Linked DNA regions of Homo sapiens: regions 1, 3, 4 and 5 are each linked to region 2. Evidence: promoter capture Hi-C in 16 types of primary human blood cells and fetal thymus (Javierre and others, 2016). All regions are on one chromosome and are shown on one strand. Each heading gives the region's core, a stretch centred on a gene start or on the middle of the fragment in contact. The rest is flanking DNA. Distances are from core to core; before and after follow the strand shown.

What was found. Contacts are between HindIII fragments. The CHiCAGO score rates a contact against its expected background, and 5 or more counts as called.
Region 1: a contact is called between a fragment that was not itself captured here and the fragment with the promoter of STX17 in region 2, in 1 of 17 cell types (M0 macrophages). The highest score is 5.9, in M0 macrophages.
Region 3: a contact is called between a fragment that was not itself captured here and the fragment with the promoter of STX17 in region 2, in 4 of 17 cell types (M0 macrophages, M1 macrophages, M2 macrophages and 1 more). The highest score is 14.5, in M0 macrophages.
Region 4: a fragment that was not itself captured here is called in contact with the fragment with the promoter of STX17 in region 2 in 1 of 17 cell types (M1 macrophages); the score reaches 6.1 in M1 macrophages.
Region 5: a contact is called between a fragment that was not itself captured here and the fragment with the promoter of STX17 in region 2, in 1 of 17 cell types (fetal thymus). The highest score is 13.0, in fetal thymus.

Annotation. Positions count from the first base shown.
Region 1 is chr9:99,359,677-99,365,710 of GRCh38, reverse strand. All of the region lies in intron 5 of NAMA (non-protein coding RNA, associated with MAP kinase pathway and growth arrest), which reads left to right. LOC124902232 (a long non-coding RNA gene) reads right to left here. Exons shown (of 3, transcript XR_007061692.1): 2 at 4,211-4,340. Among named protein-coding and RNA genes, the nearest start is that of NAMA, 13 kb to the left of the region's middle. The HindIII fragment of the contact is 976 bases long and covers 3,247-4,222 here.
Region 2 is chr9:99,904,942-99,910,726 of GRCh38, reverse strand. It overlaps STX17 (syntaxin 17), which reads right to left and starts at 4,073. Exons shown (of 8, transcript NM_017919.3): 1 at 4,021-4,073. STX17-DT (STX17 divergent transcript) reads left to right here and starts at 4,126. Exons shown (of 3, transcript NR_038853.1): 1 at 4,126-4,173. RefSeq lists an enhancer at 3,535-3,774 and a silencer at 3,935-4,334. The HindIII fragment of the contact is 1,410 bases long and covers 3,833-5,242 here.
Region 3 is chr9:99,290,053-99,295,949 of GRCh38, reverse strand. No RefSeq gene overlaps it. Among named protein-coding and RNA genes, the nearest start is that of SEC61B, 71 kb to the right of the region's middle. The HindIII fragment of the contact is 1,553 bases long and covers 3,247-4,799 here.
Region 4 is chr9:99,324,069-99,329,702 of GRCh38, reverse strand. No RefSeq gene overlaps it. Among named protein-coding and RNA genes, the nearest start is that of NAMA, 48 kb to the left of the region's middle. The HindIII fragment of the contact is 1,355 bases long and covers 2,822-4,176 here.
Region 5 is chr9:100,595,145-100,600,873 of GRCh38, reverse strand. No RefSeq gene overlaps it. Among named protein-coding and RNA genes, the nearest start is that of CAVIN4, 20 kb to the right of the region's middle. RefSeq lists an enhancer at 1,833-2,127. The HindIII fragment of the contact is 747 bases long and covers 3,842-4,588 here.

The DNA.
Region 1 (6,034 bases), core at 2,485-4,984, 540 kb after region 2:
GTGGAGCAGGGCCTCTGGGCTGGAGGGATACAGACAGTGTAGAAGATGCTACGGTGTCCCACCAGCTCCCCTTTTAAGGACCAATGCACACCCCCTGCCCCCAGCTGCTAAATGTCACCTGTTTGCCTGCTAATGACTCAATGATGCCCCCCTTCTCCAGAGAATGGCTCTCAGAAGACAGAAGCTGCATCTCCACGAGATTACAACTTTCTCCCCATACCTGCTCCCCAATCACTGCCACCACAGGCAATGACTAAGTGACACAGAAATGCAAAAGGGCAGTTCCCTCCCCTCAGGAAGGGACACCTCTGCGGTATGCTTTAGGCTCCAGAGAGTCAGTCCACTTCTACCCCCTCTCCAAGGATCAGGCCAAGGCTGGCTTTCCCTGAGATCACAGTTTATGATGACCAGCCTGAATTTCAGTTTTACACTGAAATTCCCGTATCCCATCAGTTTTGGGCAAATGGGGCTGATTGACTAGCTTAGACTGGGTTACCAGATTTAGCAAATAAAAATACAAGATACCCGGCTGTATTTGCATTTCAAATAAACTAAGGATACGTTTTGAGTATAAGTAGGCCTCATGCAAGACTTGCAACATACTTATAGTAAGAAATTACTCATTGTTCATCTGAAATGCAAATTGACCTGGGCATCCTGTATTTTATCTGGTAGCCTGGCCCTTGACCACGCCTGTGTTTGTCTCTCTCCCTGCTCCTATCCTGCTTCCTTTCCTCTCTCCCTTGCAGGTTTTTCCTGAAGAACACTCCCCCAGTAAATCACGTGTACCTAAATCCTTGCCTCAGGCTCTGCTTCTAGGGAATCTGATCTAAGACTGTCATTTGTCCCTCTCTGCTGTCTAAGGTGGCCAGAGAAGTCCTTTCATTTCCCCTGAACCTTGCAGAAACTCTTTTTGTTCAGACTTCGCCTGGTCCACCTTGGCTAGAGTGAAGGAAATCATGACACCAATTGTCACCAGCTGAGTCCCCCACGTCCTCACAACAGCCCTGAGTGGTGGCTACAATTCTTAGATCCATTTTTAGATGAGGAAACTGAGGCAAGAGAGATGCAATAGCTTACCTGGCTGCACAGAAAGTGGCAGAGCCTCAATACAGAACCATATTTCCTGCCTCTTAGACTCCTGCTTCATAGGTGCCTCCCAGGGAATTCAGGAGAGACACAAAAGCAAGGCTTTAGCTTTGCTTATCTACCCCCTCCTGGCCCCTGCAGCATTTGGACTTCAAGTTTTGACCTTGTCTCTTGGATGGGGGCCCTAGGATGGGGCCATTCTAGGTAAGCTCTCTGGGTGACCCAGGGGGCTAGCCACTAACTTCACATTTGTGAAGAACTGGCTTCCCAGAAACCACAGGAAAATGGGGGTATCCAGAAATCCATGTGGCCACAGCCCCCTTTAGGAAAACTCTATTTTCATTGATCCATGACAGATCTAGGTTCGTGGCTTAGGGTCTGAGCTTTGATTTAACCAGGAACATGAGAACTAGATTGACTTCTGGGGACCATCCAGCTATGGCCCAGTGGGATTTGAAGTTTCCATAGACCTGACATTCATGTTTAGTTAAGTACTTAACCTGGTACCTGGCACAAGGTAGAGCTCACCTAACAGTGGCTGTAAGTAGTAGTATTTCTTATAAGCAATAGTAATAAGAACATCTGATTCCCCAGATAACATGAGAGTGATAAGAATATGTCCTGCAGTGCACTCAACTAAACAGACTTCAGCTCAAAGCCATCCAAAGATGGAATGAGTTGCCTCAGAAGGCAGTGAGCTTTCTGTCACTCACAGGAAAGAAAAGGGAAGGAATTTGTTTATCTACCTGCCAGTGGGAGATAATTTCCATCCGTTACTTCTTTTAATCAAATGCTGAGATGTTCCAGAAAAGGCTGGATGATAGCTTGTGATGGTGTGCCAGCTTCTGAGGGGCTGAACAAGAAACATGGAGAAGTCCTCCCAGACCTGAGACTCCAGGAGTCTTAGAAAATGCTGACATCCCACATTTATGATAAGACCAGTGGCCACTCTCGTGTCCAGAAATCTGGCAAATTGTTCCAGAATAATGTCACAGGCTCCAGCCCTACACTTTTCAGAACTGTCCACACACTCAGACCAATTAGAGACCTGGCTTGTGCCCCTGAGTTGGGGGGCGGGGATAGACACTTACCTATGGGCCCTCAAAATCCTCCTGACCCGCAAGTTCCCCAGCATGGGAGACTGCACCAGGCCCTCTTTCTTCCTGTCTGTCACCACACTGTGCCTCCCCTCTTCTTGAGCAGCTCAGCTCAGCCACGGACTGAGTCAGGCATGCTCAGTTGCCAGCCCTACGGCAGCCCGGCTGAAGGAAATGGCTTTCTGCTCCCCCTCCCACAGCTGTCAAAAGGATACCCCAGAGTCCTCATTACACACACACACACACACACACACACACACACACACACACACGCCCTTACGGAATCTTTGCCCACAATCACAAAATCACAGGGCTGAAAGAGACGGCAAGTACCTAGCAGATTTGTTAAGTCCAGGCCTGTCAAGAACTTCCCTACCAGAAGCCTCCATCCACACACCTTCACAGTGGAGAGCTCACCCCCAGCTGGTGTCACCCTTCCCAGCGGTGAACTCTTTGGCCATTAGAAGGTGCTTCTCGTATCCAGGTGCCAGGCATCCAGGTATCAGGTGACTTCTTCTGGCTTCCTCTCATTGGTCCTAGTGTTTTCAGGAATAGCACAAGAGTCCAATCTTGTTGGAAGGTGTTGTACAAAGAGGTGCAAGAAGATACATGGGAGGAAGTAGTGAGAGATGAAGTCAGAGATAGTGAGAAACGTCAGAGAGAGAACTGGCAGGGATGTACACAGTCTAAAAGGGACTTGTATCCTGCATGCTGACAATTTTTCCATTGTGCTTTTTTTTAAAATTCTGTTGCTCTTCAGCTGTGTGGAAAACATGTCCACCCCAAATAACTTACTCTCTGAGAACTGCAGAAAAAACAAAAGTATTGTATTACCTATTGCACTGATGAGAAAAGGGTGATCAGGAAGGGAGAAGACTCAAAACTGTGTCACATGGAAAAGAGTTGAAAGAACTGGGTCTCTAGCCAGAAGAAGGGATTTGGCTGGTAAAGTGGTTGCCTCTGACAATCCTTCCTGGGGAAAAAGGATTGCACCAATTCTAAACAGAACAAAGAATTGGACTTAGGACCAAAGGGTAAACCACCAGAGTGACCAAAAGCTTTCTACTAGACAGAGCTGTCTAACAGTTGTTAAGATGGTGAGAAGTCCCTGTCACTGAAGGTGTCCAAGCAGTGGGGGCACTTGATATTTTGTGTCTGACAGTTCATGAGTTTTCTTTTAATGCATGCACATCACCACCACCACCCCTAACACACACACACACACACACACACACACACACACTGAAGCCTGGCTGTATAAAGGCAGGTGAGGCACACCAGTGTGGGGCGTGCATCTCTCACTTGGCTTAGCTTTGGTCCCCCAGAGATTTTCCCATTGCAGACTTGCTTGTCAGCAAGAAATAAAAGCCTTTCCTCTCTCCTTGGGAGGAGCAGAGCAGATTGTCTGGATCTGCTGCGTACTGCCCTGGCTCTGGTCTCAGCACAAACGCGTTCCTTCTGCTCAGTCTGTTCCCGTTTTGACAATGCAGAGGGGAGAGCTGGAGAAAGTCCCGCAGCCCAGAGTCCTGGCAGTGGAGGGCGGGGCTTTGCTGTTGGACCCGACGGATCACATTTGTATTCAAGAAAGACTAGGTGGAGCCCCTTGCTCCCAACACAGGCAGAAAGGTTGGCTGGGATTGGTGCCCATCCTCAGGCATCTTTTGAAGAGAAAGTGCTACCTGCTGCTATCCTTTCAGTGTTTTCTCAAAGGCAGAGCCTGAAAAAGGTTTTCGCAGGAGGAAACTTCTCTAAACCTCTCTAGCATCCTGGAGATTAAAATAAGTTATTTTTTTCTCTGCAAAAGAGATGAGGTGCTCTGATACCTGAGGGTGGAGTACTGGACCCTTTACATGATTAAGATCCAGAAAATATGCTTTTTGCCTACAGCATTGTATGTCCCGTGACCAGCCAGTAGTGATCCATTAAACAATGTTACTCAAGGTGGATTCACTAAGCACCCACTCTGTGCTAGGCCATACTTCCCAGGCACTGGGGAGCAAAGGTGAGAAAGATCCAGGACTTACCCTCAAGAAGCTTATAGTCCAGTGGGAGAGACCATCACAAGCAAAAAGAAAAATTAAATCCATGCACTCAGGGCTCCAGGAGAACTTTGCTGTGAGTGCACTAGCTGTCCGGGAGCATCTGGGGTGGCGTCTGCAAGGAAGGGATGCTTCGGATGAGTTTTCAAGGATACACAGGATTTTATGAAGTGGCAAAGGCAGGAGTGGGAAGGGATCTGTGCATGCAAAGTTCTGGGAAAGATGTGGAAAAGTTTTGTTTATTTAAGGAACTATGAGAACTTTGACGTGACCAGAGGAGCTACCATGCAGGCAGGGAAGTGCAAAGGATGAATCTAGAGCAGAGGTTTTAACCAGGGACAGTTTTGTACCCCAGGGACACTTGTTTGTCACAAAGAGAGGAGCAGCAGTGCTACTAACATCTATAGCGCAGAGGCCAGGAATGCTGCTAAACATCCTACCATACTACCGTGTGGACAGCTCCCACAACACCATGATCTGGTCCACAACGTCAATACTGCTGAGACAGAGAAACCCTGAGCATGGTAGGGTGTTTAGGAGTATCCCTGGCCTCTCTGCCCACTACAGAGAAGCAGCAGCCACACCACGAAAAAATGGAGTTCTGTTAGGGGCACTGTGCTTTCTGAGGGTCACACAGAGAAGGCATCCAGGGGAAGGAAGCCAGGGGAGAGTTGAGCTTTCAGATTCTGCAATCTGGAGTCCTCTATAGCTGTGTTTCAGCTAGCCCTCCCAGCTTTATTTTCTGTACATGTTTGATAAGCCTGCATCCAGTATCTGCCTCCAAATTGTTGACAAAAATGTTAAATGCAAAAATTTCAGGGCAAATAATGACTTAGACTCAAATAATGCCATTCAGTTTATGGGCATTTTGCATCCTTCATCTCATTTATATTCATTTTACAAAACAGAAAAATGAAGCTGGGAGATGTTCTGCAATCTAGGAATTATTTAACTATAACACGTTCAGCTCCCATCTCTTCTCCTAGGCTGGTCCCTGAGTGCTCCAAGGACCCATGCATCTGACCATAGGGGATGCTGGGAGTATCCTCCATCCTGGCCTGAAAGAGCTCCCTTTCAGCTTCCTGGATTCATATCTGTGTGAGTGGCTAAGGGCAGGTTCCCTGGTCTCCCTCTGCCCCTAGCTGTGACACTCACATACCCGTCTGACTACAGGGGACTCTCTCCCTCCCTGAGGCTGAATTGGTAAGAGGACCTCTCATGGATAGCAGGCAGGGACAGCTGCTCAGCTCATGTTTTCTGGCCAAGAAGCATTACTGACCCTGTGATTTGGCACTTCATCCAAACTGGCAGATGGGTACAGGTGCCTTGCCGTGATGCTGCTTCCTCTCCACCAAGCATGCCTGACCATTAAATCACCCAGCAGAGGACAGCACCAGTCAGCTGAGGGGTGGGCTCTTTTCAAGTGGAACCCCAAAATACTGCTAATCTGAAATGTCACTGTTCTCAGGGACAGCACGAATGAACCATGCCAAGTCACACACTGCAGAAACACTCTCAATAATCAACACTAGGTGTTCTAACAGTTTGTTCAAGCCTGTTCATCTGTGGTTTAGAAGTTTATAACATGACAATCTTTTACTCCAATAGCTTTCTGAAAACTGACTTCCCATATTCCCAAAGCCATCGCCAGCTCCCAGCTTTGTCATTCAGGAAAAAGAGTATGCACCTCCCCTTCATCCTCCTCATCTCTCACCATCATTAAGTACAAGCCCAAGGAGAAGAATCAAGGGCAATGAATCTTCATCAAACAATAAAATCCTGCCTGGTACCAGACCTACCTGTGCCATC
Region 2 (5,785 bases), core at 2,824-5,323:
AATTTATTGCATATTTCAAAATAGCTAGAAGATCTGAAGTGCTCCTAACACAAAGAAATAATAAATGTTTGACATGATATATATCCCAAATACCCTGATTTGATCATTACACATTGTATGTATGTATCAAAACATCACATGTATCCTATAAATATGTAAAATTATTGTGTATTAATTGAAAAAAGTAACATAAAAATAAAAAATAAATATCTAGAAATAGAATTATTAGGTAGACAGATTTTTCAAGGTTTTTAAAACATATATATAGCCATATCCCACAAAAGGTTATGCCTATTATGTTCCTACCAGAAACATAACACAATGTCCATTTATCCATATTCCAAGCAATATACTTAGTATTATCATTCTTAGACATGTCATTGGTGAAAAAAATGATGTCTCATTATTGCTTTACTTTGCATTCCTTAAATTACTAACAGGGTGGATTTATCAGCCATTTGCATTTCTTTTTTTTTTTTCTTTTTTTTTGTTTTGAGACGGAGTCTCACTCTTTTGCCCAGGCTGGAGTGAAGTGGTGCGATCTCAGCTCACTGCAACCTCCGCCCCTTAGGTTCAAGTGACTCTCCTGCCTCAGCCTCCCAAGTAGCTGGGATTACAGGCACGTGCCACCACGCCCAGCTAATTTTTGTATTTTTAGTAGAGACGGGGTTTCACCATGTTGGCCAGGCTGGTCTCGAACTCCCGACCTCAGGTGATCCACCTGCCTCGGCCTCCCAAAGTGCTAGGATTACAAGTGTGAGGCACCATGCCCAGCTGCATTTCTTCTTTTTTTAATTTTTAATTTTTGTGGGTATATATTAGTAGTAGGTATATATTTATGGGATATTTGAGTTATTTTGATACAGGCATACAATGTGTAATAATCACATTAGGGTAAATGAGGTATCCATCACCTCAAGCATTTATTCTTTGTGTTGCAAACAATCCAGTTATACTCTTTTAGTTATTTTTAAATATACAATTGAATTATTATAGTCACCCTGTTCGGCTATCAAGTACTATATTTTATTCATCCTCTATCACTATTTTTTTGTACTCATTGCATTTCTTCTTTCATGAATTGCCTGTTCATGTCATATGCATCTGTTTTTACTACAGGGGATGTCTTTCTCTTATTAACTCATAAAAGGCTATTACATGTTAAATGTATCAATTATTTGTCTAACATTAACATTTCCCAATCTATCACACTGCCTCTTTTCTTTTCTTCTATACCACAAAGAGATTATCTTTATATCTACCATCATTCCTATCAAAATGTTTTTTGAACACACCTGTTGTTCAATAGATGCTGCCTGAACTAAAATATTTCTTCACACGTCCCTTCTATACAATTGCTAATCCTATCACTCTAGTCAAATAGCACAATATGCATAGCCATGATAATGGAGCTTCAATTAGTCTACCTTTAGACTCTTTCCCTCCAAAATGGAATATAAACTATAAAAACATAAACTGTATTATAAACGAATAGCATAACCACACTGAAAGAAGTGAGGAAGAAAAATTATCTAAGCCACTTTAGAAAACAATATTTTAACTGAATACTATAAGCCTAGAGACAAAAAGAACTACACTGTACTCTATTTAGTAAATGTGTTTCTCACAGGAACATAGGTCAGAAATCCTGAAATTACTTTATGTGTATACTAGGACTGAAGAAATAAGAAAATATTTTGTAGAATGCCAAGAGTCAGATTTCTCACTGTCAGATAAAAAGTTAAAAATAAGGGACAAAACTAGAATGAACCCTGTGGTGTTAGACTAGAAGCAAAGCTACTGGGATGAACTTTTGTTTTTAAAAAGTATATGGATAGACAAATACAGAAATAAACATAGATCTTTGTGTATGCATGGGTATGCATATGTATAGACTGGTGTCTTCTGTGGGGCCCTGGAAGCAATGTTACCCCAGTAGCAATGAGCATCCCTAGAGCACAGATCTTTGTGTTTAAATACTATTCTCCAAAAAAAGAAACTACGGGTCGTTGGAGAAGTGGCTGACTATCAGGGCTGAGGCACAGAAAACACAAGATGAGCCTGGGGCATCCTATGGTACCAGAAAATTAGGAAGTTCCAAAAAAGAAAAAAAAGGATGGAAGCATGCTGAAAAGCTACAGAAAGCAACCTGAAAGAAAACTCCCAATGATCAAAGCTGGAACAATTTCAAACATAAAATAACACAAGTGTAGGATAACAACCAATAGAAAAACATCTAAGTCCACATGGATACAAATAAATAACGGAATACAAATAAACAAATGGGAAATGGGCAGCTCATCCTTACAGAATAATTTCAATTAATAAAGAAATGAGGAAAGTAGAAAATCATCATTAGAACACCATAGTCATAATAATTGCTGAAGGCAAGATCCACCAATGGATGTGAAATTTAGCAAGGGAAAGTCTGAGGAGAAACAGGATATGCGTACGGTTTAAAAGCTCCCCCCCAAGATGTCAATTATAAGGAGAAAAATAAGACCTTTACATTGGAGAATCCCAGCAGACACTCTCTACCAAGTGATCAAGATTAACCTCACGAGCAATAAGTCATATATATCAGCTATGCTCATATGATGAACTGAGAAGGGCACACACACTTTTGTGTTCTTAACAAAAATGTATAACCTTAATCTAATCATGAGAGAACACTGGACAAACCCCATTTGAGGGGCACTCTACAAAATAACTGACCAGCATTCTTCAAAAGTGTAAAGATCAGAAAGAGTATAAAGACAGAAAAAGACTATCAGTGTAAAGACAGGAAAAGACAGAGGAACTGTCACAGACTGGAGGAGACCAAGGACCCAAGACAACTAACTGCAATGTCGGGTCTTAGAGTGGATCCTAGAATAGAAAAAGGACATTAATACAGGAAAAAAAATCACAAGTTAGTAATTCAGTTAATAGTATTATACTAATATTAACTTCTTGCTTTTGATAATTGCGCTATGGTATGTAAAAAATTATTAATGGAGGCAATAGGGAACTCTGTATTACTTTTGAAACTTTTCTGTAATTTTAAAATTATTTCAAAATAAAAAAGTTTTTTAGTATAAGAGGATGTTTCACGTAAGACAGGTAAAAACATTTAGAAGTCAAAGAACTGCCATCGTATTCACTGCATTAATACTTGGAGAGAGGGGTGCCAGGACTGTGCCAGGTGCTTTACAAACTTTATCATGTAGTGCTTACAACTAATATGAGATGGGTACCATAATACTCATGTTTCCCAGTAAGTTACTTAGGAGGTTATTAATAAGTGAAAGACCCCATTTCTCAGGAAACCCAGCCCCCAAAAGTGACGAACACCTTCCATCGGCCCAGAGCTCCCACTTTTCAGGATACTAGTGGCGCCCGATTTCTTCCGGCCCGCCGCTTAATGTTTCTGACTTATGGAAGAGATACCGAATTTGGAGAGAAAAGTCAAAGTAAAGTCTCCTCTCTGAACCTCGGTTAGCTAAAAGGAGGGAGCCAAGGTGTGGGACCTTCTGCCAACCACCTCTGGGTTTGGCGAGCAGGGGCTTCCGGCCTCTCGCTCCCAGTCCTCCGAGCCTCACTACCATCGAGCGTCGCGTCATTCCTCGCAGTGTCACCCACAGCACACCTGGGCCACACACACCAAACGCCCCCACCAGCGAACGGATGCGCGGGTCTGTCCCGGGACCCAGACGCCAGCGACCCTGGCGACCCGGGGCCTACAGCGCGCCAGAGACAGGACGCGCGCCGGAAACTTTTCCACCCCGCGACCCCGGGAGGCCGTCCTGCTCGCATCGTCTGCGGCCTCCCTATACCAGCTTCCAATAAAGCTTCCAAAAACGAAACCAAGCGAGGCTCCGCCACTTCTGAAAAACAGGAGGAGCCACCATGGCGCTCGCACTTCGGATCCAATGCCCTACTTGCCGCCCAGCGCCTCTTGCGCGCGCCACACGGGCGCCAGGCCCACCAAGCCTGTGAGGGCCCGACGCCCCCAAAGGCGGCCTCCAGAGAGCCCCTTACCTCCCGCCGGGGCGCTCGAGGCCGGTCGGTGGGCACGGCGCAGGCGCAGGAGCGACGGGGCGGGGCATCACGAGGGGTGGGCAGGGTTGGGCCCCGCCCCCGCCCCCGCCCCCGCCCCGCAGGGCCCCCAGGCCGGGCGCTGGGGGCGCACAGGTGAGTACAAATGCGGACGCTGCTGAGAACAGCGAAAGCCTTTTTCAAAAGTGATATTGATTTACGTTATGGGGTTGTGACTCGAGCCAAGAGGAGAGAGACGCACAAACGCTCTTTAGGTCTGCTTGTTGTGTTTAAGACAATTCATGCTTGTATGGCCGACTGCATTTCGCAGTTTTCCTGTCCGTTTTCCTCTGTTCTTCCTAGAATTTTATTTGCGGGTTGGGCATGTATTCTTAGCTCTGTTTTGAAACTGAAGCTCAGAAAGGTGGTGCCTCCCCATCCCGTCCCCAAAAGCCCTGTGAAGTGGACAGGGCAGGAGTGCCATCTTAATTGCAACAGGTGTAAAAATTAAAGCTCAGCAAATTGTGGTTTCCTCCAAAAACTGGTGGAGGGCTTAAGGCAAACGTCTTTATCCCGATTTTATAGATTATGACTCTGGGGTTTAACAAAGAGTTTTAAGTGACTCACTCCAGTTCAGCCAGCTTATGGCAGAGCTGGAACTCCAACTGGGTGTCCTAATTTCCTTCCCAAGTTATTCCAGTTAGACCAGCTGCAACCACATGAACAAGCAGGTGGCCGGCTTTGAAGCCTTGTCCAAGTCACAGGTCCTCCTCTCTTCATGGCCTAACTTCCAGATCCAGCCCTTTTAAAAAGATGTCTGTGAATATTCAGATGACGTGCTTAGAATGTATTCACTAATGGCATTGTCTCAGAAGTGATCAGGATGTTCAAACCACAGTTAAGGAAACTGAGTTCTTAGGGTCTTCCAGTAGAGTAGGAGGTAAACAGGGAAGATTAGGGGCCTGTAGATCCTTTAAAAAGCCTTGAAAGACAATTTCTAAAACAAAGCACCAAATCTACCAAGCAATTTGGATTTTCTTTGGGGACATAATGTATACTGATATTTGTTTTACAATGAGCTCCAGAATGTATTTATCAAATTTTGATTCTAAGGAGAAAAATTAAAGTATTAGGCAATACTGTGAGAAAATGTTTTTTATGCAAGGATCAGTGAAATAAGATCTTTTGAAATAAAAGATCATTTGTGTTAAGTTCTGAAAAAGCTTCCTCAGGTACAAAATCAGGAGGTGTGGTACTCAAAGATTCTAAATTTGGACCTGGACTTCTAAGTTGTTATATGTATGTTTGCTGTAAGTTAGGTGTGTCAAAGTAGTAGGATAAACATTTTTTTTTTTTTTTTTTTTTTAGACAGAGTCTTGCTCTTTCGCCCAGGCTGGAGTGCAGTGGCATGATCTCAGCTCACTGCAACCTCCACCTCCCAGATTCAAGCGATTATCCTGTGTCAGCCTCCTGAGTAGCTGGGACTACAGGCGTGTGCCAACATGCCCGGCTAATTTTTTGTATTTTTAATAGAGACAGAGTTTCACCATGTTAGCCAGGATGGTCTTGATCTCCTGACCTCGTGATCCGCCCGCCTCGGCCTCCCAAAGTACTGGGATTACAGGTGTGAGCCACCATGCCCGACCAAAACCTTTTAATCTAACTGTTGGTTAGCTTGATTTATAATCTTTAAATATTCAAACATATGGTGTGTGGACCTCTTTTGTGTACTCTAGGTCATCAAGTTGTTAGGGGCAGGCCTGCTACT
Region 3 (5,897 bases), core at 2,774-5,273, 610 kb after region 2:
GCAGCCCTTTGTAACCAGTGCCTTCTGCATCATCCTTCAGGAGCCAGTTTTGCACCCTGTAGTCCCAGCTATTTAGGAGGCTGAAGAGGGAGGATCACTCGAGCCCAGGAGTTTAAGGCCGCAGTAAGCTGTGATTGTGCCTCTGCACTCCAGCCTGGGCTACAGAGCGAGGCCCCATCTCTAAATTAAAAGAAAAAAATCCACCTTTCCTTAGGCTTTCATTATATATAATGTGATATGTACATACATATTATATTTCCTGTCTGTCTTTAATTTCAGACTATTTCGTATGAAAAGAAACGTAACTGGCCTCTGTGCAGCACCTTCCTTTGTTCAAGAGACTTCCACTCACATTCTTCCATCTCTACCTCCTAAGTGACAACCTTGTGAAGTGGGCAGTGTCCACTTCACAGTGCAATGTGGGTGGTAGATAGAGTATTTACAGATCACTCCAACATGCTGTGTACGTCGGGGTAGCCCTTGAAACACGGGAGTCTAGACCTTATTTAGCACTTGCAGACACATTTCTCAAGTCCTGGCAGTTGACCACTGCTGGGATCACCCTTTCCAGGCTCCTACCACCCCTTCAGAGAATTCTGGCCTCATAATCTCACACCCAAGACACGTGAGTGTAACAGTAGGAACTGCATTGGTCGTATGTAAAAAAGATGCAGTTACCATGTGTTTAACCACATCTGTAGGTGCTTATTTTTTCTCACATAACAATTCTAGATTGCCACCTCATAGTTGCAAGATAACCGCTCACTTCTAGCTGCATACTCATATTCTCTAAGGAAAGGCGGAAAAAGGAAGCAACAAGATGGAAGAGGCAGCCACCCTATCAGGAAAGCAACGTCACCAAAATAACCAGCAGGTTTCCAGTTATATCTCTTTGACCAGAACGTGTCATATGGCTACCCTCAGCTGCAAGGGAATCTGGGAAATGTAGTTCTTTAGTTGGGCATCTTGTCAACCCAAACAATATCAGTGTTCTATAAATAAGAAGAAAAGGGAGAAGGATACAAATGTGTGGTGATCTTAAGGTGTGCCGTTCTCACAAGAGAATAGGCTCTAGGAGGTCAAGGAACATATCTGTTTATGCTCACCATTTGTGTCCCAGAGCCAAGCCCAGAGCCTGGCACACAGTGGGTGCTCCATAATATGTTTGAAATGGGGGAATGAGCCTGAGCAACATGGGGAAACCCATCTCTACTAAAAATACAAAAATTAGCCAGGCGTGGTGGTGCATGCCCGTAGTCTTAGCTACTCAGGAGGCTGTGGCAGGAGGATCACTTAAGCCCTGGAGGTCAAAGCTGCAGTAAGCTGTGATTAAGCCCCTGCACTCCAGCCTTGGTGACAAAGCAAGGCCCTGTCTCAAAAAGAAAATAAAAATAATAAATGGGGGAATGAATGAATCAATGAAATGACTACTAAAGTCATCATTAGTAAGGTATTTTAAGCTCTAAATGGGCTTAAATCTCAGGCCCCTAAAACCCTTCCACATATCTGGTATTTGTCAAAGTTCAAAGCCTTCCGACACTCCAGCTTCTTCCAGTGTCCTCTGTGTACTCTGTGTGTCGCTTGGATAACCCCTAACACCCATTATCAGGTCACAATAAATCAAATCTGCAGCATTTCATTCTGGGTTACCTGTAATATAGCCCTCATATTCATAAATTAATAGCCAATTATGGAGCATGAGATAAATAATCCCCAGCATCAATACATATCATCCATAATTACAAAGACAGGATCAGGTGTATCCATGCATAACACTTGGCTGGAATTCCCATTTTTAATGCAGTTATTTATTGCCACATACATATCATTTTGAGGAAAGGGTAGTTTTGTACCGTTTAATAGAAAAGACACCTACATAGATAAGAAATCCCTCTTCATAAAATGCTGTAAATTTGATAAATGAATAAAAGCATAAAATTTAGCCAGAAGTTTTCCCTTTGATGAATGGGTTTTAAAATACTTACAGTGTGTTTTTAAATGACAGAAAAGAATAGGACACCCAAATCAGATCTAGAAACCCTCAAAAAGAGATTACATTTTAGGTGAACTGTTTATAGAAAAAGCTGGCTTTCATTAACTTAAACCTCCAGGAACTGGTTCTGTGGGCTCTGGGAGGAAAGATGGTCCCGGGCAATTCCAGAAGAGGTCAGAGCATTTTGATGATCTCTTCTTTCCATAATGGACAGCAGTGTCTTAGCGTCAGAGCTAGGGGGTACAGGTTCAGAGCTGGAGGTTTTCTGTGTTCTTAATGGTGCCCAGCAACGGTGTTGACTAACCCATTAACTTAACCCACCAACCGTACTTCATTACAATACATTCAGAATTTCACTGAAAGACATATGGATTCTTCAGGAGATTCTTACTCCTTGAACCTCAATTTCTTCATCTGTACAAAAAGAATAAAAGTAGACGTTCTGTGTGCCTTTTCAGTATGGTTGTGAGGATCACATAAAGAGAACGTGAAGCAAACTATCATACCCATCATCTCACATCGTTACCCATTTGTGTGTGTGTGTGTGTGTGTGTGTGTGTGTGTGTGTGGCAAGAGCAGTGAAAATCTACTCATTTAGCAAGAATCCCATAAGTGAAAACATGGTGTAGATGGTAACACGCTATACCAGTGAGAGAGGTTTTTAGGATGGATAATGATTTTCACAGGAAGTATCTTAGTGGGATTGTTTGGGTTGGGGATCATACATTCCCAGCACTAAACATGGCATATCTGTTGGATATCAATGGGATGCAGGGTTGTACTCACTCACACTCGAATAAGGAAGGACCATTGTCACACTAACAGGGGCCGTGTGATGCCCAGGAGTCTAGATGTCTGAGCTCTCCTTCTGCACCTGCCACTCTCTTCTCCTGTATGTTTGAGCTACTTATTTCCGTGCTGTGAATCTCAGTCTTCTCATCTGAAAAAAATGGAGGTGTCGAACTAACAAATCTCTGGGGAGCTGTTCTGGCTCTAACCTAGTAATTCTGATACTACAGAATCCAGGATCCCAGTGTGTGGTGGGATCGGGGACCTGTTCAGATGGACATCCACCCTGAGGCCATCTGAGACCCTTTCTGGCTGCCCCTGCCCTGCTCATCAATGTCTCTCAGAAGATCTTCTCTAGCCTCTTGGGGGTCCTCCCTGAACAGCTCAGGAACCTCGACAGCCTCTGAGACCAGCCAAGTTAAAGGTCTTAGGACAGGGCTGAAACACCACCTCTGTCTCAAGCTTGGTGCTGTCTACCAAGAGCCTGACTGGGGGACATCAAGGCAACCTTCCCTGACTTCATCAAACAGTTCCAAAAGCCTGCAAACAGGTGCTGGCTTTTTAAGAGAAGTAATTTCTGTGGCTCTCCACTCTAGCCACATTAGTCATTCAAGTGCTGAGGGACAATATAAATTCCTGTCATCCTACTTTATGTGACCACTAAGATTTATTCCAAGCGACAGGTCATTAACGTCTCTTCTCTTTATTTTTTTTTCTCAGATTCACTGAAAATTCATATTTCTGCTTTATTACAGACTGCTAACAGCTATGTTTTTGGTCAGAAAGTCAGCAATAAATCTGAATTTAATAAACTGACAAAAGACCACTATCCCAGAGATGGTCTGAGCCCACATTCCTCCTTTCCTTCCATACAAATGCTTTCGTATTGAGATATCTTCCACATAAAAGCTACGTTCACCATCTTAATAGTCACCTTCCCCCCACCCCCTTAGATGTTTTGCAGTTTCAAGGCTGACTATATAATTATGGATTGTCAGAACCTGAAGGCCCCACAACAATCGCAGTGGGTGGGGAAAGACCTGAACTCCAGGCTCAGCCATTCCCCTGCCACGCGACCTTGGACACGAGCTAAGCCTCAGTTTCTTTATCCATAGAATGGAAATCATAGTCCTCGTCCCATCTGCCTCTCAGGGGACCATGAGGATTAGATTCAAATGAGAGCAGGATGGAAATCATGAAGCTCTATGCAATTGGGGGTCAGGGATTGTGACTGCTTTTTAGTTGTAAATGTTCAGCATGTTAGAGCCAGTACGCATGTTAGAGATTCTTCACTTTACAAAAGAACACTGAGGTAGCAGCAAGTGGACCTCTCCCCTCAGGGAACCAGATTCTCCTTTCGGGTATTTTTTCTATTACACAATAGTCTCCCCCAAATCTCACCTATTTGCTCTTGGAAAAGGGTTTAGAGGAGGGGTTCTCTGAAGTTTCCTGGAAGGCCTCGCTCTACTACAGATTGCATGGATAAGGAGGCTCTAAGAACTTTCTGGCTGGGACCAGAGTCATTATCATGTCTTTGTTTACCTCCAATCAGTTGCGAGCACCTTGAGGGAAATTCTTGCATAAAGTAGGCATTAGGGAATGACTATTTGAATGAATTCCAAATTAATCCAAGGGGACTAATGTTCTGGCTAAACTCCAGATAGCATTCTGGGTTATTGGGAGGCACCTATCCTAAGATCTGAGCATCCCTTCCAGAAGGCAGCAAGACTGTCTCTTAGAAAATGGAAAGCCTAACCCCTTCCTTCCAGGGACTTTCAGATGCACTCTAAGAACTACAACTACTCCACTCCCCAAAACTGTGGCCCAGAATGAGGACTTTTAGGAGATTAGCATGCAGACAAATACATCAAGCCTTCTATAAACTTCTACCTTCAAACTCTCTATAAACTTCTGTCTGGCTTTGTAAATAACCATATAAGAATTTTCCCAATAAACACTGGAAGCAGAAATGAATAGACATTTCCGAGGACCTGTTTCTGACTAGTTGAGCAAAGCTTATAAAAGTTATACTGTGTGCTCTGTCAGCTTTTTCACTATTTCATAACGTCATCCATAAACCCAGAATAATTCTTATTTACCAACTCTCTCACTGCATGATTTTGCAGTCTCCAGCCAAAACTTGATGCAAATGGTGAAAAAATTAATCCTATTGAGTAAAATTAGAAAGCTCTAAAATTAGGGTGGTTTAAAAAAAAAGAGAATGGGCTGCCCTGAGTAATAGCAAGTCTCCCATAACGGGAAGTATGTAAGCAGAGACTAGAAGACTATCTGCAAAATGGTCTAAAAGAGGAATTCCTAAAATTGGTGGGAAATTGGTTTAGACAACCTCCAAGTCTTTGCAAATCAGACGTTCTGGGAATTGAAGATGTTGGTTCCCCCCAAACTTTTCTGCAGGCCTAGTATCTGCCAGGCTGTGTGCTGGGAAAGGATGAAGTAGACCCAGCTCCTAGTGATGCTAAGTGAAACCCCAGTGTGATGGTTAATACTGAGTGTCAACTTGATTGGCTTGAAGGATGCAAAGTATTAATCTTGGGTATGTCTGTAAGGGTATTGCCGAAAGAGATTAACATCTGAGTCAGTGGGCTGGGAAAGGCAGACCCACCGTTAATCTGGGTGGGCACCATATAATCAGCTGCCAGCACAGCTAGAATATAAAGCAGGTAGAAAAACATGAAAAAGCTAGACTGGCCTAGCCTGCCAGCCTACATCTTCTCCCGTGCTGGATGCTTCCTGCCCTCAAACATCAGACTCCAAGTTCTACAGTTTTGGGACTTGGATTGGATGTCTCCTTGCTCCTCAACTTGCACACGGCCTGTTTTGGGACCTTGTGATCACTTGAGTTAATACTTAATAAACTCCCCTTCATATATGTATTTATTTATATATTTATATATATATGGGAGTTTAAGTATTAATAGGATTTTATATATATATCCTATTAGTTCTGTCCCTCTAGAGAACCCTGACTAATACAGCCAGTTTAGTGAGAAGACAGACAAGCCAGCAGCTAACTCCAGTGCAAGGCAGAATGGTGTACATGTTGGAAAGAGGTGACCAACAGCCAGCTATGAGTTTGAGGGATAGTTGTGATGAA
Region 4 (5,634 bases), core at 2,250-4,749, 580 kb after region 2:
ATTTTCTTGGTTTTATTTTTCTGTCTTGAATTCTGGGTTCATAATTTTTACCAAAAAAGACCCTACTGCTTCTTGAGAAATAGATATGTGTGACATATATCTTCTATATATATTTATGTTCCTTTCTGACCTATTTCCACATGTTTGAGATTGCTAATTAGCTATCTTATTTTCATGTTTATTATTATTACTTTTTAATTGTTAAAAAAAATCTCTCAGTAGCATAATCTTGTTAATACTTCTGTGTCTGCCTTCTGGCATGGGGGATTTTAGGTGCTACAGACTTTTTTTTTTTTTTTTTTGAGATAGAATCTTGCTCAGTTGCCCAGGCAGGAGTGCAATGGCGTGATCTCGGCTCACTGCAACCTCTGCCTCCCGGGTTCAAGAAATTCAACCATCTCAGCCTCCCAAGTAGCTGGGATTACAGGCACCCGCCATTGTGCCCGGCTAATTTTTGTATTTTTAGTAGAGATGGAGTATCACCATGTTGGCCAGGTTGGTCTTGAACTCCTGACCTCAGGTGATCTGCCCACCTCGGCCTCCCAAAGTGCTGGGATTACAGGCATGAGCCACCACGGCTGGCCCAGATATTTTTAATGAATTATTTTAATTTCTCTGGTTGCGAAAATAGTATGCATTTTTAGCTTATTTTATGTGAACATCATCTTTTGGTGATTAATTCTTAATCTATTATTAGCTTTTTCTCTTTCCTTGTTGTTATCCCATTTGTTCTTTTCATTAAAACTTCATTGTTGTCTGCCTTTTGGCAGAGACATTTTAGCTTTGCATATTCTAAGTAGGTAATATTATCTAATGTTATTTCTTACATACTTAAATACTGCATAAATTTATTACCTCTAAGCAATTGGACCAATATTGTTGTCTTCTTCTTCTTTTTTTTTTTTTTTTGATACCTATTGTCTTAAGCTTGATGTTGAAACCCTCTGTTAACTTATAATGATAGTTTCACTATTTGCTACTTAATTTGCTTGCTTCTCAGAGTATTTCCCTGGCTTGGGAATTTAATGGATTAGTTGCCTCCTGGGTCTATTATTAAAGTGATTTTTTTAATCCGTTGATGATGAGGATTTTCAACTTGATTTTATACACTCTACTATAATGATGATAACAACAATAATAGCAACAATAATAAATTTGAGTGTTTATTATGGTTCTGGCTCTGTACTAAACGCTCTGCAGACATCACCTCAATTAATCTTCCTAAAATAAGTATTATTAGTCCATTTACTATATGACAATACTAAGCCAGACACTAAGTGGCAGAGTGTGATTCAAACCCAGGTCTTTCCAACTCCGAAGCCTGTGTCTGCTATATTTCACATTAGCCTCATGTGACCCGGTGGCTTTTCAATAACACTGAAAATTAGGCTGAGCCCATCCTCTCTGCTTTTGACTTCATTTTTTGTGACTTTCTCTTTATTCAGTTTTGCCATATAAAACCCAACATTTGCTGGGCATGGTGGCTCATGCCTGTAATCCCAGAACTTTGGGAGGCTGAGGCAGGAGGATCACTTGAGCCCAGGAGTTCAAGACCACCCTAGGCAACATAGTGAGACCCCGTCTCCAAAAAAAAAAGAAAAAAGAAAAATAAAAAAAAATAAAACCCAACATTTCTTTCTAGCCAATAATATAAAAAAACTAGTAGGAATCTTATGGCAAGAATTAAAATGAAAATTCAGAGTTTCCAGTTATACTTGAGCTATATTTTAAAATCCACACAATGTATTGACTTCCTTGAGTTTAAAATTATTTCGAAATTTCTTAGCATACATACTTGGCTTGGCTTTGAATGCTTCTCTGTGCTGTTTGGCATGTAGGTGCCTGTAGATTTAGTTAACCATGGAGAGAGTTGCTGTTTGTCATTGTTTTGATGGAAGCTCTTATTCTGCCTTCTGGAAGCAAAGGAGAATGGGACAAGAACTTGATGTAACATGTGTCCCAACCCCTGGTCTTGCACCACACACACGCCCCCAAATAAAAAAGCGATGTTCTCAGAGGACCATCTGGAAATGGTGGCCCTGCTCACCTGGGGCCTCAGTCTCCTGGGAGAGGCCACCCACATCTGCATCCACATGTTGACTTTCCCTTTGCTCCTGTGCAGCCTGCTGCTAGCCAGAGCCTGTATTTCTGTAGAGAAAGCCTCTTCCTGGTCTTCTTGGTAAACAGAGAGGCTCCCCATGGCTGAGCATTGGACTATTAGTTTGGCTAAATTCCATCATCTTGGTTTAGGTCAGTTGTCCCACCCTGTCCAATGGTTTAGCCATGACTCTTTCTTTTGTTTCATCTTTCAAACTCTAAAACACACCTTTTTACCTCTTCACCTAGACTTTATTTACAATCATTAACAGGTCCAAAGATGGAGTTTGGAGTCATAGAAAAATTTTCCCTACAGGTTTACCCTGAGTAATGAACAGGTTATGGATTCAGTTGTGCTTTAGGAAAAGCATCCAGCTCTCAAAAAATTATCTAGATGACTTGCTGATGCCAAGATATAGAGATTTGGCAGCTCCTCTCTGCCAGTCCACAAAAACAAAAAGAAACAATATTTATTTGCTAAGGCTTAATAGAACCAGCTAACCCAGGAACCACAAGTGTGGATTCATATAGATCATCATGCCTGGTAACCGGTGCTAGAAGTTTTTCAGGATTGCTTGCGTGTCATTTAGAGAGGTGACATGGTATACTGGAGCCACCGGAGAGAGTTTTAATTGTATTTGACTATGTCTCCACATCAACATATGTGGGTTTAATTCCTAGATCCTCACCAACTGTCATAAAGTTTTTTTTATAAACCTAAGCTTCCTCTATTATAAAGTGTGGAAAATATGACTCACCTCCTAGGGTTCTTATGCACCAGATAGCTTACCCCACGGAAAGTTTACAGTGCCCAGTTTTCTGGAACTGACCCTTCATCACTTTCCATTTTTTAATTTCTTACTTCCTTTTTTATATTGTTAAAACTTCATGTTCTTTCACTTTTCAAATGTACATGATCTTTTATAGCGTGTAGTTTTTCAGGGAGATTTGACTCTCCAATGACTCAGAATCACTGAGCCCACCTCCCTGCACTTTTCTAGTACACTAAGGTGAAACGTAATTAGGCTGGGAGACTTGAATCCACTCCCCTCTCTTCCTTGGTCTCAGGTTTCCAATCCCTTCTAATTACATTTGCCTGATCCTTTCCAGTTGACATCTCCTTCTCAAAGGAGACTTTGGACACAGAATGGAAAGGAGTAGTTTTGTTGTCTCTCTTTTACCTAGAGTTGTGGACCATCTGACATTTATCCCAATCCCAGCAGCTATGGGGACATCACAGTAGGATTTCCCATGCAGCCTGCTAATCTCCTTCCCCAAGAAAGGTGGCGCATGCCCTAGTCAACCTTAGTCTTGGCTGTTAGGCCACTGGGTTTACAGGAATGGAGGCCTCTAAAGGAACAGGTGCACTCAAACTCTCCACCCATCTACAGCCATCTCCTTGCTTTGCTCCAAGAGAAGTGGATTCCGAGCTGCAAGCTCAGATTCCAGGGCCCTGACTGGGCTATGTGTACCTGTGGGAAAGGCCCTGAGTAATTCACAATCATGCCTATTGGCGTGTGGCTCACCCCCTCTATTTGTTCTTTTTCATGAACTTGGTGATGAGAGCACCAGAGTCTTCTTCATGGGAGGAGATATGATCCTGCAGTTCACTCTCTCTTTCTGATGAGTGTTATTTGGCCTCTGCCATGGTCTGAATGTTTCTGTGATCTGAATTCATGTGTTGAAATCCTAACTCCCAAGGCGATGGTATTAGGAAGGGGCCTCTGAAAGGTGATTAGGTCATGGGGGTAGGGTCCTCATGAATGAGATTGGTGTCTTATAAAAGAGGTCCCGGAAAGACCCTCACTCCTTCCACCACATAAAGACACAGTAAGAAGGCACAATCTATGAACCAGGAAACAGGTCATCACTAGACATGAAATCTACTGGCACCTTGTGCCTTTTAGCCTCCAGAACTGTGAGATATAAATTTCTATTGTTGATAAACCACCCAGTTTATAGTTTTTGGTTATAGCAGCCTGAACAGGCTAAGACAGCCTCTGACCTCCTGAGGCTGATGCAGACTGGTCATATGACTTGAGTTTAGCCCTCACCATTGAGAGAAGCCCCCCTTAAGCTTTGGGCCTCGGTCACACTCTCAGCCAAGTTTACCAGAGCTTTACTTTACAGTTTGGGCACAAGCTCAGCAAGAATATGCTGCTTTGGTATGCCATAGTCCCTCAGGTATACCTCTTTGGGGACCTCTTAAGATGGAGTGGTGAGCAATATTCAGCCATTTCTGGGTCTTCTGGACATGAGACATGCCAGCACCCCTTCTGGCACTTAGCTGAAGACAGCCTTTGTGGTTTTTTTCTGTTCGTTTTAGCAAATCTCAGATTCAGTAGGGTTGTATCCTCTATGGCATGACCTTCTAAATCTCTGCTGTTGTCTTATTTTTGGCTGTTTCAGAGTTTCTGCTTCCATCTGTGTTCAAAAGCCTTGTAAAATATGTGTTTGTCAAGAAAGACCTCAGGGCCACTATACTAATATTAGAGGCTACTACTATTAGAAGAGTTCAAGCAGAAAGAATCACCATCCACCATTAACCTTTAACCTTCTTGGTTTCTCTTCCCTCTGCGTGTATCTCTCAATATGTCTATGTATCCCTGTGTCTGTCACTCTCTCCCATCCAACAATTCTGCTTGGACCATTTTTACCACCATTGCTTCTGGTCCTCCTAGCTCTTCCAGCTGAAAAGCAATTCTCTTTCCCTGTAATTCATATAAGACATCAGCCTTCTCACAACTCCTTCAACTCAACAAGCTCCTTCCTGCCTCAGGAACTTTGCACATGCTGCTCCTCATCTGGAACCTCTCTGCCCTCTGCCTCCATCCGCAACATCATTTCCCCAGTGCAGCCTGACTCTTCCTCTAGCTTCTCTCTCCTTGCATCCTTCAGGTCTCAGTTTGCATATCATTTCCTTAAAAGGGCTTTTCTGACCAGACCTCCCCTCCCCTAGTCCAAGCTATATCCCCCAAGCCCTTCTCAATCATATCACTTCTTTTCCTTTGTACCATCAATCACATTTCTAATTATAAGCATATATATGTCTGTTGGTTTCATACCTTCCTCTCCCACTTAGACTCTAAGCTCCATTAAGGGAGGCGCTTACTTGCCATTGCAACCCCATACCCAGCCCAGGGCATATAAAGCTTGCAATACATATTTAATTGAATGGATAAATTAACGATCAAATGCTGAACATTTTAGGGTCATTTTCCCTAGAAAAAAAGAAAAGTAATAATAAATTGTAAAATGCAGCACCTGAAGAATTTCAAGGATTTGAAACATGTATATTTACTAACATTTGAGCCCAATTAGCTTGACTGTGTTGTCACATAGGGGAAACTAGCACTAGGATGCCAACCATCTCAGTTTGGGACTGTCACAGTTTTAGCACTGAAAGTCCTGCATCCCTGGAAACCCACAATCCCAGGCAAACCAGGATGGCTGGTCATCTTATACAACACAGCCCTTGTCTTAAGCCCACCTGGGATAAGAGGATAAGAAAACTTTCTGACCTCTGAAGGTGTTCTT
Region 5 (5,729 bases), core at 2,966-5,465, 690 kb before region 2:
GCTCCCAAGAGACAGACTTGCCAGGCTTAACAAGAACATCAGTTCCAACAAAAGCCACTCCCTAATCCATGCAAACAAACACTGTCAAAGCCAGGCCCACAAGGGCAGGCCTTTGGATCTAAAAAATTACTAGACAACAGCGAGCATGGCTTGTGATAAGGCCTTTTGGCTGACAGCCAGCAATCCTGGCCTTTTGGGGCTTCATACAGGCCTTCGAGCTACCTGCTATCTCAAGAAAATGGGTGGAGGGGAGTCCAGGTGAGGAGATGAAATGTCACAGCATGTCTCTGAGTCATCTCTCACGTCTCCCAAACATTAAATCGCCAAGTGGCAGAACCTGAGCTCCTACTGAGAAGCCAGGGTTAACGTAAATTTATCAACAACTATAATTTACTAAACACAAAAATAAGCGTTTAGAATGGCTTCCTCTAGGCAGTGGAACCGTGGCTGGAGACAGAAGTAGGGCAAATGACTACTGACGATTGCTTTTTAAATAAACCCTTTGGCATGGTTTAATTTTTTTTAAGACTTCACTGAAGGTGGAGAGTTTACAATTGGATAGAGAAAGTTGTTATATGATTTTGATATTGGACTGGAATTTTCATAACTCAAATAAGATTACTTTGGGTCTAAAAGTAACTAGAAAAATTTTTATTATCTGAGAGTGACGAAAGAAGTTGTAAGAATATGCCTGAGATGGTCAGTGGGAAAAGAACAGTTTCCCTCTCCTGATACTCCTCTGAATTCAGCTCTCTCAATATAATGGCACACATAGGAAGTGTGCTGAGAAAGAATCGCTTAGAATTGAGTTCTGCTGGTTGGTGGAACCAGGATTTCGACAAATCTGAATGTAGGGGTAGTCGTGGTTTCTAAGAGTTGAGTAAGCTCTTTTGTTCCATGAAAGTGTTGCCTGCTTGTAGGTTGGTTTGCATAATGCTGCAGTACCAAACTAAAATTCTTCTCATTTGGAAGTGTGAATCCATATCTCAGAATCAGTAGTGAAACAGACCATCCTGGTGGATTTGCAAAGCAGGACTTGGCTAAAACCTTGAATTCATTATCTGTCCATAAAGAAGATATGAGGTCAAAGAATAGAGATGGGAAGAGAGGTCAAGTGAGGATCCTTTGGAGAGATCTGCTGAACCCGCAACCAAAGGAGGTGGTGTGAGGGGCCTGCTTCTAACCTCAAGCTTACCAAAGAGGGCCTCTGAGGGACCACTCAGGGAGCTTGCAGTCCAAGGGATGCAGTGCACTGCTGTTTGATTCCCATCCAAGAAATCTGGAGGCACAATGGTGCCTTTCAGGTGTGGCAAATTCTGAAGGCTGATTTTTTTTTTCTTGTGGAGCCCTTTCAAAGTTTCCTCAAGCAATGCCTCCCCTCCAGCGGACTCCTGACGACAACCCCCTCAACTTACGCATCTGACAGTGAGGCCCCAATCCCCTTCTGCTGAGCTCTCACCTTCGAGAGGAAGTGTCTTAAGGAGAATTTTTTTCCAAGTAGCCAACTCCCTACCACTGACCCGCTTGGCCCAGGAAAAACTCAGTCATCATTGCCCTCTTGTCATCATATGGACAATTTGTTCGTAAGTCTAATTCAACCAACGAGACAGAAACTGCAAAGCTTAAACAGCTCAGTCGCCAGCCATAAATAAAACAGTGCCAGGAGAGAATAATTTTTCAACTATAAGGAGACCAAGACAAGGGAATAATTTACATTTCTGGTTTGCGTGAGTGGAGCTGCGAAAATAGCCCATCATATGTACATCACTATATTTTAACAAATTTCCTATTGGTAGACGGCTAGACTGCGACAGGAATTAACAGGAATTCCTACAAAACAAACCGGACTCAAGCCGGGCGCTGAACCTGGATGCTGACGGAGACGGGAAGAGAACACCCGCCCCGCAGACCTCGGCGCCTGCGCCGGCTCTGCACCGGCTCTCCGCGGCGCGCATGCGTTACGCCATTAGCGCTTTTCATGTGGCTCCTCCCCGGCCCCGGCGCGCTTACTGCGGGAAATGCAAAATTCCCTCCTCCTGCCCGCGGAGCCGGTTTCAAGAGAGCGAGCGGTGGGTTCTGGAACCACCCTGTCCTGCCGGAAGCGTACGCTCCCCCGCCTACCTGGGGACTGGGCGGGGCTCCAGGGAGAGAGGCCAGGCCTCCGCAGCCCCACCAGCTCCGGCCAGGTGCGTGGTATTCGAGAGTAGATTTGTTGTGAGGGTTAAAGTACTTAAAGTTCCTTGCCTTAAATAAAGAGCATAATAAATTGTGGCTGTTGTTACCTGCTTCCGTCACTTCTGGCGCCTGAGATTTGGTTCTTCCTCTCCAGGATTAATTTTGTTTGCTCAGTCTTCTTCCACCTGCTCAAGAATTTTAACCAGTTGCCACACCTGCGGCCTTCGCTTTACCCCTTCTTGGCTGGGCCTTCTCCTTCAGCTCATCTCCCCCATCATTTACAAATACCCTCCTGTTTTCTGTGCTCTGTCCCTACCTACCTCTCCTGTCCCCATCTCATGAGCGTTATCAAAGGTTATCACATTTGTCTCTTCTCCTCCCACCCCATCTCCCCAACTCACTGGAATCTGGCTGCTTCTACCCACTCCACTCAAACTGCTCTCAGCAAGGTCCTCAGCGACCTTGTCATGCACCCCAATGAACACTTTTCCATGCTGCTCTCTCTGCAGCTCCTGACACATCTATCTGAAACTGCTGCAAATCCCTCTGTCATCCACAATGCTCACACTCCCGGTTTTCCAAACTCTCTGATCACTATATTTGCCAGAAGTGTGTCTTCCTTCCCCTGCCCATTTCTGTTGGCTCCCACACACATGCTTCCTGGTTAGTTGTTTTTTTTTCACACTCCACACTTTTATGGGGTGAAGATCTCCTTAATGCCATTGTTTTTGCCTTGCTGATGACTCCCAAATCTGTACCTCTAGTCTAGATCTTTCCTCTGAGCTTCAAACTCCTGGCTATCCCACAGGCACCTCAGACTTAGCACCCCCAAAACATATCTTTTCCAGCAAACCTGCTTCAACTTCTGTACACTTTCTTCTTTGTCCCTCTTCTCACTGGATAACATCATGTGCTGTCTCAAGCCAGAAATCCAGGAGCCACCTTAGACTCCTCCCTCTCCATCATGCCCAGCTGTGGGCTGGCTTCCCTAGGAAACAGACTCAGAGATATTGTAGGTGGCTTATTGAGTGATGCTCTCATGAACAGCACCTGTGAGGGCTGAAGGATGAAGGACAGAGACAAGGAGTTGAACACTTAGTGAGGTTTAAACCGGGGCCTCAGCCAATGCTATGGCAAGCTCTGGACCCAGGAAGGTCCTTCAGAGCTGTTCCACGCTGAAGCCAGAAGCCACACACATATCCCTCAGTCAACCCGTCACTCAATGTGGGCTGCTCTCAGGAGGGGGCATGACCTTGGGTGAGGTGGCTTTCTCTGCTGAGGGCAATTCCTGGAGACAGACTTGGGCGAGAGCCATCAGCCGTCAAAACTCCCAGCATCTGGAGGGATGAGTGCCAAGTCTTAGAGGGAATGTGATTGTCACCATAGAACCCACTACATCCCTCATACTCGGTCACCAAGTGTTTTATCTATTTCTACATTTTAACTTTCAAATAAAATCCCTCCCTTTTCAGACTACTCTATCTGAGGCACCATGGCAGGGACAGAGCAATGGGCTGAGCAGACACGGTGCCAGTGCTCAAGAGGTTTACAATCTAGCTGAGTGAATAACCACCTAAATATATATTTTTAAACTACAATAAGTGTTCTTATTGTGTAACAGGGGAGGCTTTCCCTGTCAGGGAGTGACGTAGAGGCAGGGAAAGCTTTCCTGAAGAAGTATCATTTTCAATGGAATCTGAAAGATGAATAGAAGTTAACTAGGTGTATTCTTAGTTGGTTGGGAGGGGAGTGGGAAGAGTGTGGACAGGCAAATGGAATTGCCTATGCAAAGGTCCTAAGACAGGTGGGATAAGGCATTGGAGGACCTGAGAGGCCAGTCTCTGGAATGCAGAAACTGAGGAGGAAGAATAAGAGATGAGGATGAAGTTAGGCACGCAGGAGCCAGATCTTGCAGAGCTCATATTTGAGCCTTTTTTTCCTAAAAGTTATGAAAGCCACTGGATGATTGTGATCTCTGTGTAGTAAAAATGCTATGTCTTAGTTAAGCAGAATATGCAACTGCCCACAATCAAAGTCGATAAAATGGATCATATACATCTACAAAATGGTTTCAAGTTAAATTCTGTTAATGTTAAATGCTAGGGGCAAAAAAAAAAATGCAATGCAGATACCACTATTACAATAGCCTCCTTCTCTATCTCTAGAGGCTACTTGTAGTCCCTCTAAACAATAACACCTATTTTTGACTGCTTACTAAATGCTAAGTTTGCTAAGTGCTTTCCATAAAATATCTGGCTTAATATAACACCTTTAGGTGGGTACTATTTAGAAACTGGGTTCAGATAATATAATTTGCCCAAGTTCTCACAGTCAGTAAATGGCAGACACAAGCCAATTTTCCAGTTATAAAGCTAAAGCTCTTGATTGTACATTGAAATACCCCACCTAAGCTTTTGGAAACACTCAACTTCACAACTTTCAGTATCTCCATGCTGCCTTCAACTTCATTCCACCATGCCCTTCGCAGTAGACTCCCTTTGTAAATCAATGCCAACCTGATGCAAGCACAGGTTTGGAATACACACACCCTTAACACCATACAACAAACCACAGCTACCTTTTGAGGGCCACCACTAGAACCAGGACACTTTCTCCTGGCTCATCCCACCTGATACTTTTTCTCCTCCTTACCAACCCATGATTTTGATGCTCTAATCTCTGGCAGCTGAACCCAGTTCTAATTAATACATGCTAATATATGCTAGATAAATGTAAATTTACCTGAATAAGAGCCAAAGAAAAACAGAGGCAAATCCACTATAGTATTCTACTAATCATCCAGTTTGTCATTTTCTATGTTAAACCTCCCCCTCTATTCTTAATCAACAGTGGATAGGTTCCAAACTGCCTGTGCATAAACAATTATGAAAATATCCACTAGATGTCAGCCTTGAGCTGCAGTGAGGCTTGGGGAGCGGACATGGAATGGAAAACTCTTGGGAGTTTGGGTGATTTCCTTTGCAGTGTAAACTAAGGCAGGAACTGTAGTTAGCTTTTTGTATGAACACAATGGCTGGATTTTTTCAATGAGTATAAATACAATAAATTGGATCATGTCGTTCTTATTAACACGTTCCCATGGGTCCCCTTCTTATTCAGAGTAAAACCCAAAGTCCTTAGAACAGCCTGTGACACCCCACTGCTCCCACATTTCCCACCTCACCCATTTCAACCACACTGTCTCCTGAACACAACTGAAACTCTTCCTAGAAACACCTGAATGATTGACTATCAGATTCAAACATTCTGGTCACCTTACCAGAGGCCTTCCCAGACACCCTTTCTAAAATAGTGGCAGCCTGCACCACCCCCACTCATAATGCCCTGCCCCCTTACCTGACTTCTTCTTCACAGCACTTATCACCACCTAACATAACTATATTTGCTAGTTACTAGTCTTTCTCTGGAATCTCTGAAAGCAAGGGCTCTGTTCACTACTTTACTCCCAGAAGAGTGCCAGGCTTACATGAGGTGCTCAAAAAAATACTCATCAAATAAATGATCCTAATTCAAAGATATTCAGAGAAGAGGCC